Regions from separate parts of the Homo sapiens genome. Here all the other regions are linked to region 2. Evidence: promoter capture Hi-C in human tissues and cell types (Jung and others, 2019). All regions are on one chromosome and are shown on one strand. Each heading gives the region's core, a stretch centred on a gene start or on the middle of the fragment in contact. The rest is flanking DNA. Distances are from core to core; before and after follow the strand shown. Region 1 has its middle 41 kb from the start of IDNK. Region 2 holds the start of FRMD3 (FERM domain containing 3). Region 3 overlaps FRMD3 (FERM domain containing 3).

Region 1 (3,070 bases), core at 392-2,891, 43 kb before region 2:
TGATGGATCTGGTAATGTAATTTTAATTATACTTTGAGTAAAATGGTAAATATGTACTTTCCTTTGGAAAAAATATAATAGAAATGTGGCTAGTACGGTATTGTGAGAAAATGGGGCTGGCAGGGGGAAGGCTTTTGCATTACAAATTGCTGATGGTATTGCTAGAAAGGGCTTCTACCCCTCCCTCTGCTGGCAGGAATGGGACATGTCTGGTTCTATGTTGAGGGGAATCAAGTGTGAGTAGCGAGATGTTCTTAACACTGAAGTTTTCCAAAATGAAATGTAGTCAGCATGTTATTTTTTTGAAGCAACTTAAATTTTTACCAGGACAAATTTTTGTGCAGAAAAGCCAGTAAAAATAAGAAATAATAGTTTCTCTAAAGCGAATTCTCAAAAATAGAAGAGATTGGAAAGCTATGGAATAATTTGGGATGGAAAATATTACTCTTGGCTCTGGAAATGAGTTGTAAGTCATGGTTGGTGAAGATCTTAAATATCATCTGGAGAGGACTTGTGTTTAGTGGAATAAGTTCAGTTTTTAAAACATTGATTCATTATGAGTGAGACGTGCTCCATGTTCAAGAGGCTATAGGCTTATCGATCCCAAATTGCAACGTCTCTTACAACTTGAAACTGATTATCTGGATCTGTTTGAAAAATTTCCCCAGGTGCTTCATTAATTGTACCTGATCTCAAATCTAGGCCAAAAATGGTACTTCAATTTGAGAACAGAGTCACTGACACCATAAATAATGTTTGGGAACCTCTCCAAATGCTAATTCCAGGGCTTTGAAGTAAAAATATAGCATCTCACCAATATTTCATTTTTCTTCTAAATTTGCATTAAACTTATTACCAAGGACATACAAAGTGAGTAACTTTTTGTTATGTTTTTGCTTGTTTAGGTTAACAGATTCTGCTATGGAGAGTTTTATACCTCATCCAAGATTGTAGTTAGAGCACACTGTTGTATGTGCAAGTTGGTGATTTGAAATTATTCCAATATAATGGGAGTTACTACCTTTTCTTACCCCAAGAATTTAAAATAAAAAGACCACTCTTTATTAAATTATCCACAGTAAAACAGATACTAGGTTCCCTAATAAATCAAGTTTAAGAGCAAATATACTCTAAATCCTTTTAAACTAAATAGTATCACTTTAATGAACTAAATTTAAGAATTGGAAGTTCTCTTGAAAATCCACTGAATATCTTTTCACTAAACCTGGAATTCTTCCAATTGCAACATTTTCTGATCTGGGTATTTCTCAAGACTTGATTAAGATATTGCTTTTCGGCTGGATGCAGTGACTCATACCTGCAATCCCAGGGCTTTGGGAGGTTGAGGTGGGAGGATCACTTGAGCCCAGGAGTTCCAGTCTTTATGGGCTATGATTGTGCCACTGTACTCCAGCTGGGGTGACAGAGTGAGATCCTGTCTCTAAAGAAAAAAAAAGAGATTACTTTTTATTACTTATGACAACCTTTTGAGGTATAATTCTTATATCATACAATTAACAGTGTATAATTCAATGGTTTTAGTATATTCACAGAGTTACGCAAGCATCGCTGCCATCAAGTTTAGAACATTTTCATCATTCTAACATGAAACCATGTACCCATCACTCCCCATTTCTCCCCAACCACTCTGCCGGCTATTTTGGACATTTCACATAAAAGAATTCATACACTATGTGGTCTTTTGGGATTAATTTCTTTCACTTAGCATAACTACACACTTCATTTTTTTATTGCAAAATAATATGCTATTGTATGAATATGCCACATTTTATTTATTCATTAATCCGCTGACGAACATTTGGGTTGTTTCCACTTTTTGTGTGTGGCTATTTTGAATGCTTCTATGAACATTTGTATACAAATTTTTGTGTGGACATACATTTTTGCTTTTGTTGGACATATACCTAGGAATGGAATTATTGAATCATATGGTAAGTCTGTGTTTAACCTTTTGGGGAAGTGCCACACATTTTCTCAAAGCAGCCACACCATTTTACATTCCCATCAACAGTGTATTAGGGTTCCAATCACTCCACATCCTTGACAATACTTGTTATTATCTGCCTGATTATAGCCTTCCCAGTGGATGTGAAGTGGATCTTGTGGTTTTGATTTGCATTTCCTCAATGATTACGGAAGTTGAGCATCTCTTCATGTGCTTATTGGTCATTTGTGTATCTTTGGAGGACTGTCTATTCAAATCCTTTGCCTGTTTTAAAACTGGGTTGCCCTTTTATTATTGAGTTGTAAGAGTTCTTTATATACTTGGTATACAATTTCCTTAACGGGGTGTAATTTGCAAATATTTTCTCCCATTCTGTGGGTTTTTTTCACTTTTTGGATGGTGTTCACTGAAGCACAAAAGTTAAATTGTTTTAGCATTTTAAAATTTATTTTATTTATTTAACATTTCATCTTTAAAAAGTAAACCTTTAATATGAAAATTTTCAAACAAACATGAGACAATATAATGAATCTCCTTGTTTTTAGCACCCAGCCTCAACAATTTGCTGTTCTTGTTTGATCTAGCCTCCCTCTCCACAACACTTTTATTTTCCATTATGCTTTGTTTTCTTCTGAAGTTTTTTTCATTTAAAAAAATTAGTATTATTTTTAATTGACAAATCATAACTGTATACATTCATGGGGTACATTGTGGTATTTTGATATATGTATATAATGTGAAATGATTAAATCAAACTAGTTAACATAACCATCACCTTACTTGATATTTTTTGTGGCAATACATTTGAGATTTCTTCCCTTGGTTATTTTGAAGTATACGTTATTGACTGTAGTCACTCTTCTGTGTAGTAGATCTCAAAACTTATTGTTCCTGTCTAGCTGAAACTTTGTACCCTTTGGCCAATAATTCCCCGTTCATTCTCTTGATCCCCATACTCCCAGGTTCTGGTGCCATCATTCTGCTTTCTACTGCTATGAATTCAACTTTTTAAAGATTCCATATATAAGTGAGATCACGAGGTACGTGTTTTTCTGTGCCTGGCTTATTTCACTTAGTATACTGTCCTCCAGATTTATCCATGTT
Region 2 (3,153 bases), core at 653-3,152:
GACAAGTGTGTGTGTGGTCTTAAAAGAAAAGCATGGACTGTTTGGCTGGTGACTTTTCTTTGATCTCTGGGCTGTCTGCTCTTTTGGCTAGCAGAGATGATCCAGTTTTCAACTTGGGGCAGGTCCCATCCCTGCCACCTCATATGTGCATATGGGGATTTACAGATTACAGCTGTAAGATGTCCTCCACTGACCCGGTGTCATACCAGCTTCCCAGCCACCTGTGGGATGAACAGGTGTTCTCTCCTTTGAAATGAGAAAAGAAATGGAGAGACTTTTCAAAGATCCCCAGGATTAGCCAGTAGCTGGGCCAAGAATGAAATCCACATCTTCCCATACCCTCAATACTGACCTCTCCATCAGGATCTGCCCTAACATTTGAAGGGCCCAGCTCAAGAGCCTACATGAATGCCCCATACTATCATCTAAATATTCATAAGCAATAGTCAGCTATTGAGTGCTACATAAAACATTCTCTATCCTCCTATCTTGACAAATTGTTGCAATTTGGAATTTCCAGGAGCAGATACTGAGACTGAGTTTGTCCTGTGTGGTATTTATTAGTGATCAACAGGGAGAGGAGGCAGGAGCAGGCAGAGAGAGAAGTCCAAATGCAATGCGGACTCCCCCAAACCTTAGCCAACCCCACTAGGTGTCCTAGAGAATATATGGCCCACCAGACTGTCCAGGGCAGGTAAAATTTGTGTGCCACTCTTCCTCGACCCCCAGGACAGGGCATATCTTTGGATGAGGGGACTCTATGCAGGCACAAACCTTGAAAAAGCTGACAGCTGGTCAACACCTCCTCTTCTAACAAATGTTCCTTCCTAATGACCTGTTCTGCTCCGGCAAGAGCAACAGGGTGAGAGGACTTCCATCTCTCCCAGCTCCTGGACATTCTAGTGCTCACATTCAAGCTCCATACCCCTGACTCAACAGCTGCTCCTGGCCACTCTCGGGCCTACGGTACCTGACACAGTGGCTCTAGCCACCTTGGGGACAACAGAGAGGCAGGATACCTCCTACCTTCAACACCCTGGAGGCGCGTGGGGAATTCCAGAGTCCTCAATACCCAGAGATTGGACTAAAACGGGATGGGGCACATCCGCTTTGCCATTAGACCTCTTAATTCCTGAGCAACCGGGAACTGGAGGAGGTCTGTAAAGCAGGGGAGTAGGATAGGAACCTATCCCTCTTGCTCGGGTCAAAGGTATGCTATCAAAGATCACACTAAGATGTTGGGAGATTTAAAGGAGGATTTGCACATGGAAGGCTCTTTTTTGGAGAAAGAGACTGAGTCCTAGCTAGCATTAAATAAAACAATGGCTTAAACAATCTCCATGAGTACCAGAGATTTTTACTATTAGCGATATTCCTGGTGTAGCCGTGTCAGGGCTGTCACTCTCTCTGTCACTCGCCCTGGGCCCAGCAATCCTTTCCCGAGGCGGAATCCCCCTGGCGGTGTGGGTCAGGATCGCTCTCCGTCCCCTACCCGCGCCAGGTCCCTGGAGCTGAGCAGAGCAGGGCGCTGTCGAGCGCGTTGGGGAGCCGGGGCCGGGACGAGCACAACCGGGAGCCCGAGCGACAGCGGCCAGGGGAGGGAGGAGGCGGTGAGGCTGAGGAAGGCAGTCGGGCCCAGCTTGACGCAGCGGCGGCTGCGACTGAGCAGGCCACCACCAGGGCACCCGGGCCAGCCGCGCCAGCCATCCCTCCGCCTCCTCCTTCAGCTGCTCGGCGCGCGTGGGAGTGAGTGCGTCGCGAGCCCGCCGGGGGTCTCAGGCTCTGGGCGTCCTCGGCGAGCGAGCCCGGGCAGAGGGAGGCGCACGAGCGCGCGCGACAGAAGGAGGCGGGGAAAGGAGGGGGCGAGGCGGAGGCGAGCGAACAGAGGGAGGGACCCGCCCGCCGCGCCCCGGCCGCTGGGCATGTGTGTCCGCAGGCGCCCGACGCTGCCGATGTCCCGGGGCTGAGCCGCGCCCAGGTGTCCCGGACAGTGCGTGCGAGCGTGTGTGTCCGCGCAGGCGAGCACCGCGCCGGCCCTGAGCCTCCCGCTCGCTCCCCACGGCCGCGGTGCATGTTCGCCTCCTGCCACTGTGTGCCGAGAGGCAGGAGGACCATGAAAATGATCCACTTTCGGAGCTCCAGCGTCAAATCGCTCAGCCAGGAGATGAGATGCACCATCCGGCTGCTGGACGACTCGGAGATCTCCTGCCACATCCAGGTGCGCGTGGAACCGGGCGAGGGCGCGGGGCACACGCCGGGAGCAGGGCGGGGGGCCTTTGCGGTGGGCATGCGAGAACAAGGAACCCACTCCCGGAGGGGATTGGGGGACTGCTAGAAAGCCAGATTTCGATTCCTCAGGCCTCTGAGGGTGGGGGGCCTTATCCTGGCATGGAGGGGCATGGTGCCCTGCAAGCGCCAGGCACGCGTTATCCGCGCCCAGTCTCCTTCCCCTCGCGTGCACCCTGCGCGCGCGTCTCACTGCGCCCGGGCTAGGGGCGCGGGGCAGCTGCCTCCGGAGGGACTCTGGCCCCTCTGGGCCCTACTCCGCCAGGAGATGGGAGCTCCGAGGGCTGAGAGGGGCACCTGCATGTCGCCCACTGGTATTTCCTCCCTTCTTCCACGTGGAGAAGGCATGCATCAGCTGGGTTCACTCATTTCTGTCTCCCGCGCCCAGGCTCCGGAGACGCCCTCAGTCCCGGAACCTGCTTTCCGCTCCGTGTCGGTCCCCCTCACCCTCCGCCGGTGGTCTTTAGTTCTCCGCGTGGGGCGGTGGCGAAGTTTCCCCAGAGTGAGAGAGGCCGGGCTGCCCTGGGCGCCAGCCTTGAGGGATGGAGCGCGCGCTGCGCCGGACTGGAGCTACCTCGAAAGGAATGTGTGAAGTCTGAGTGTTTCGGAGAAAGGAAAAGGGATTGTGAGGCCAGCAAGTGGGGAGCCCTGCAGGAACCTGGGTCCTGGGTAAAAGAGCCCCGTGGAATCTTGGTGGACATTCACTGTCGCCCAAGTTGGAGGAGAAGGCGAGTTGTTTGGGAGAAGGCAGCTTTGCTGGCAGCCCTGTCCTCGGGTAGTAAGTGCCTCTGGGCTGTCAGGAGAGCTAGTGTGAGGTGCAAAGGTGTGTGTGTGCATGTGGTTGCGCGTGCGTGTGCATATTTGCTG
Region 3 (3,427 bases), core at 541-3,040, 35 kb after region 2:
CCCATTGATATTTTACCTGGTGCATTATTGTAGGAGGGGGACTTTCCTGCTGTGTGGAAGAAAATCTCATGACAGGCATAGACACATGGCACAGAGTAAATGCATGAACATTTTTTTTGCCATAAGAATGAATCAAGAAAGTAGCAACTCTGATACCTCACTATTTTGGGATCTTGAACCCAATATTGCGTGTTGTTTGATGTGAGCTGACCCAATCTGAGGACCCAACATCTCCCAGAAGATCTCCTGCCATTAATTCATTCATTTATCAATATTTACTGTGCAAGGTACCGTGAGAGGATGTTGAAATACAGATGTAAACAACACACATGCATGGAGCTTATATTCTAGTAGGGAGAGGCTGACAATAAGCAAACACTCATACAAATAAAAATTATCACAGGTGATGTGATGAGTTCTATGTAGAAAAATAAAGTTGAGTAAGGGGGATTAGAGGATGAAGAGGTAGGGAAGCGGTACTGTTCTTTATAGAGTGGTCAGGGAAGGTGTCCCTGATAAGGTGGTATTTGAGGAGAGGCCTGAAAGAAGTGGTGGGGGGGGAAGTCAAATGAATACCTGGGAGAAGAACATTTCAGAAAGAGAACAGATGTAAAGGTCTTGAGGCAGAAGGGAGCTTGGCGAGTGTGAGGAATGTGAGGGAGGAGGAGAGGACTGGGAAAGAAGCCAAGAGAGGGGGTGGCAGACAACCTGAGGGTCTTATAGGTCACTTGAAGAGCTTTGGAAGCCATTGGAAAGCTTTGGTAGAGAATGGCATGGTCTGTCTTGTGTTTTTAAAGAGGATCATGCACTTGCTCTGTTGAGAATAGGCCCTAGGGAGAGAAGAGCAAACACAGGGAGACCCATTAGGAGGTGAAAACTGTGCCCTTGGATAGTGAGAAGTTTTAGGAAGCCCAAGACCACTTGAATGTCTACAGTCATTGGTGGTGCTTTCCGTTTGTGTGAAAGTCAAGCTCAGGAGATGATAAGCACTGGCCTGGCCTTGAAGGGGAAGCTGGCAAGGGCTGATCCCTCTTCCTTTCCAAGGGCTATCACCACAGAGCAGTACAAACCCGAAGGCCATGTAGCATCTGGCTTCAGCAGCACTCAGTGCACACCCCAAACTGCAGCAGGATGCGGAGTGTATTCTCTTCCGTTACCACCTCCCCACTCCCGCCCTTGTCACCAGCTACAGAGCAGCTGGTTCCCCTGAGTTGCAGGAGAGTTCTAGCTAGTGTTAATCACACAGGACCTTCTCAAGCTATATCTTCCTTTTCCTTCTTGCACGAATGAGTTGTGCCTTTTCTGTCCATGATTTCAACTGTGGTGCTGCTTTCCTCAGGCTTCTCTGAATCTGGACTCATCTGGCCCACTTGGCTGGTGGAGATGTGGCCCTGGAGTGTTGGCCCTTCTGATCCAATGTCTAATTTACAGTGCTTCATGATCACCCTTTGGATTCTGCCTTGGTTATCTATTGCTGTGTAAGAAATGTCTGCGCACTCAGTGGCTTAAACCAACACCCACTTAGTTAGCTCTGTAGACCTAGACTGGTGTCTAGACCAGGATTCTGGGCAGGCTTGGCTGGGTTCTATACTCAGGGTATCACAAATCTGTACTCAAGGTGTCAGCAGAGCTGGGCTTTTCACTGAAAGCTGGGAGGCAGAATCTATTTCCAAGGTTGTTCAGGTTGGTGGTAGAATTCAGTTCTTTGCAGTTGTAGAACTGATGTCTCCATTTTCTTACTGGTTGTCAGCTTCTAGAGGTCACCACAGTCCTTATCACATGCCCCTCTCTAACATCAAGCCAGCAGCGATGCATGAAATCCGTCTTGTGCTTTGAATCTCTCTGAATTCTCTTCTGTCGTCAGCTGGAGAAAGCTCTCTGCTTTTAAGGACTATAGGGTATATGACCCACCAGGATAATGCAGATAATTTCCCTATCTGATGGCCAATTGTGCCATGTAACATAGCATAGTAACTGTGCCATGCAACATAGCACAATCATAGGATAGGTTCTGTCGTCATGTTGATAGGTTCTGGGGGTTAGGGCAGGACATCATTAAGGGGCCATTTTAGAAATTCTGCCCTTCCCAATAGTCTTTTGCAGCCAATATCAGTAGTATTAGCAGTACTACTGCTAATTACACTGTAGTAATTACCAAAGTAAATCAGTCATGAGGGCCTATCTTTGCCCTTATAGTAATTACTACAGTGTGCTTGTATTTCCAGAACCCCAGTTTCTCCTTTTCCAGAGAGGCAGTTGGCATTTTGAAGCCACATGGTGCACTGGAACCCAGCATAACCATCAGAAATCAGTGTTTAGTGTTTCTGTCTGACTCTGAATGGCAGAGGACAAAGGAAATGATGGCCTTTTATATCAATATATGATCATTAAAGCTTCTCATTAAAGCTAAAATTATGAGGGCCGAGATTTTCAAAGCATTTCTGTGGTTTGATTTGGAGTCCACTGAATCATGAAATTGGAGGTAACCTCTGCTGCCCTTTGCCTCTGCTTCTTCCCCTCACAGCAAGCTTCCGGGTACCATCCTGATTTGTCTGCCCACCTCTTCTGGAACACCTCACTTGACCTCTTCCATTCTTTAACAGGCCCATTTATTAAGAAATTCTTTCTTCTATTGGGCCCATGTAAGTTTCCTTCTGACTTTCGCACAGTGTACCTATTTATGGCTTATAGCTGTACCAAATAACTCATTTCTTTTCATAAAATATGGTGATTCAGATACTTAGAGGCAGATATCAAGTCTCAGAACATCTCTTCTACAAACTAAACTTTAGCTTTAGCAGGCACCTGGCACGTCACCTCTACTTCTGGTACTGGGAACATGCCTTTAGAATGTACCCTCCATCAAAAAGGCAGGAACCTTCTCTGTTGCACTCACCACTGTGTCCTTAGCTCCTAGCACACTACCCGGTACACAGCAGGGACCAGTGCATATTTATTAACTGGGATGCAATTGCCCTTTGGAACTGAATTCGAAGTGGCGCATGCTTAGGTATTTGCGTGTTCTCCCTAATTGGCACTGCCCAGTCTTGTGATCCACCCCAGGTCCATACCTAAAAACAGTTAATATTTTCTGTCTCACATTTGTTCCAGAACAAGACACATAACTAGATAAATAAAACAAGTTAATGATTCATGCACTTAAAGGAGTTGCTTCCATAAGTAACAAATTTTGGTGCTTGACTTAAATTGTACTTCATTTAGAGTTGCAGCAGAAAGGAGGAGGTAAATGCATTGCAGAGAAAAGAGGATATTAAACGTAGAGTTGGCTTTCCTTTTCCCTCTCTACTCAAATGCATGGAGTCACTTAATCAGATGCATCTCTTCATGTGAGCACTGGCTGCAGGGATGAAAATGAAGCCCTGCTAGCAATAAGAAATTCCTCTCAAGAACAAACAGGAGATGTGGT

Evidence for each region. The method cuts DNA at HindIII sites, captures the fragments that hold promoters and counts their contacts. A contact is called where the count stands out against the background at its distance.
Region 1: a contact is called between a fragment that was not itself captured here and the fragment with the promoter of FRMD3 in region 2, in 1 of the 25 tissues and cell types used here (neural progenitor cells).
Region 3: a fragment that was not itself captured here is called in contact with the fragment with the promoter of FRMD3 in region 2 in 1 of the 25 tissues and cell types used here (neural progenitor cells).

What each region holds. Positions count from the first base shown.
Region 1 is chr9:83,580,463-83,583,532 of GRCh38, reverse strand. It overlaps a transcript of FRMD3 not described here. Among named protein-coding and RNA genes, the nearest start is that of IDNK, 41 kb to the left of the region's middle. The HindIII fragment of the contact is 4,095 bases long and covers 1-3,070 here.
Region 2 is chr9:83,537,150-83,540,302 of GRCh38, reverse strand. FRMD3 (FERM domain containing 3) reads left to right here and starts at 1,902. Exons shown (of 14, transcript NM_174938.6): 1 at 1,902-2,218. The coding sequence starts at 2,072. The HindIII fragment of the contact is 11,978 bases long and covers 1-3,153 here.
Region 3 is chr9:83,501,732-83,505,158 of GRCh38, reverse strand. The region is part of intron 1 of FRMD3 (FERM domain containing 3); the gene reads left to right. Among named protein-coding and RNA genes, the nearest start is that of FRMD3, 35 kb to the left of the region's middle. The HindIII fragment of the contact is 4,434 bases long and covers 1-3,427 here.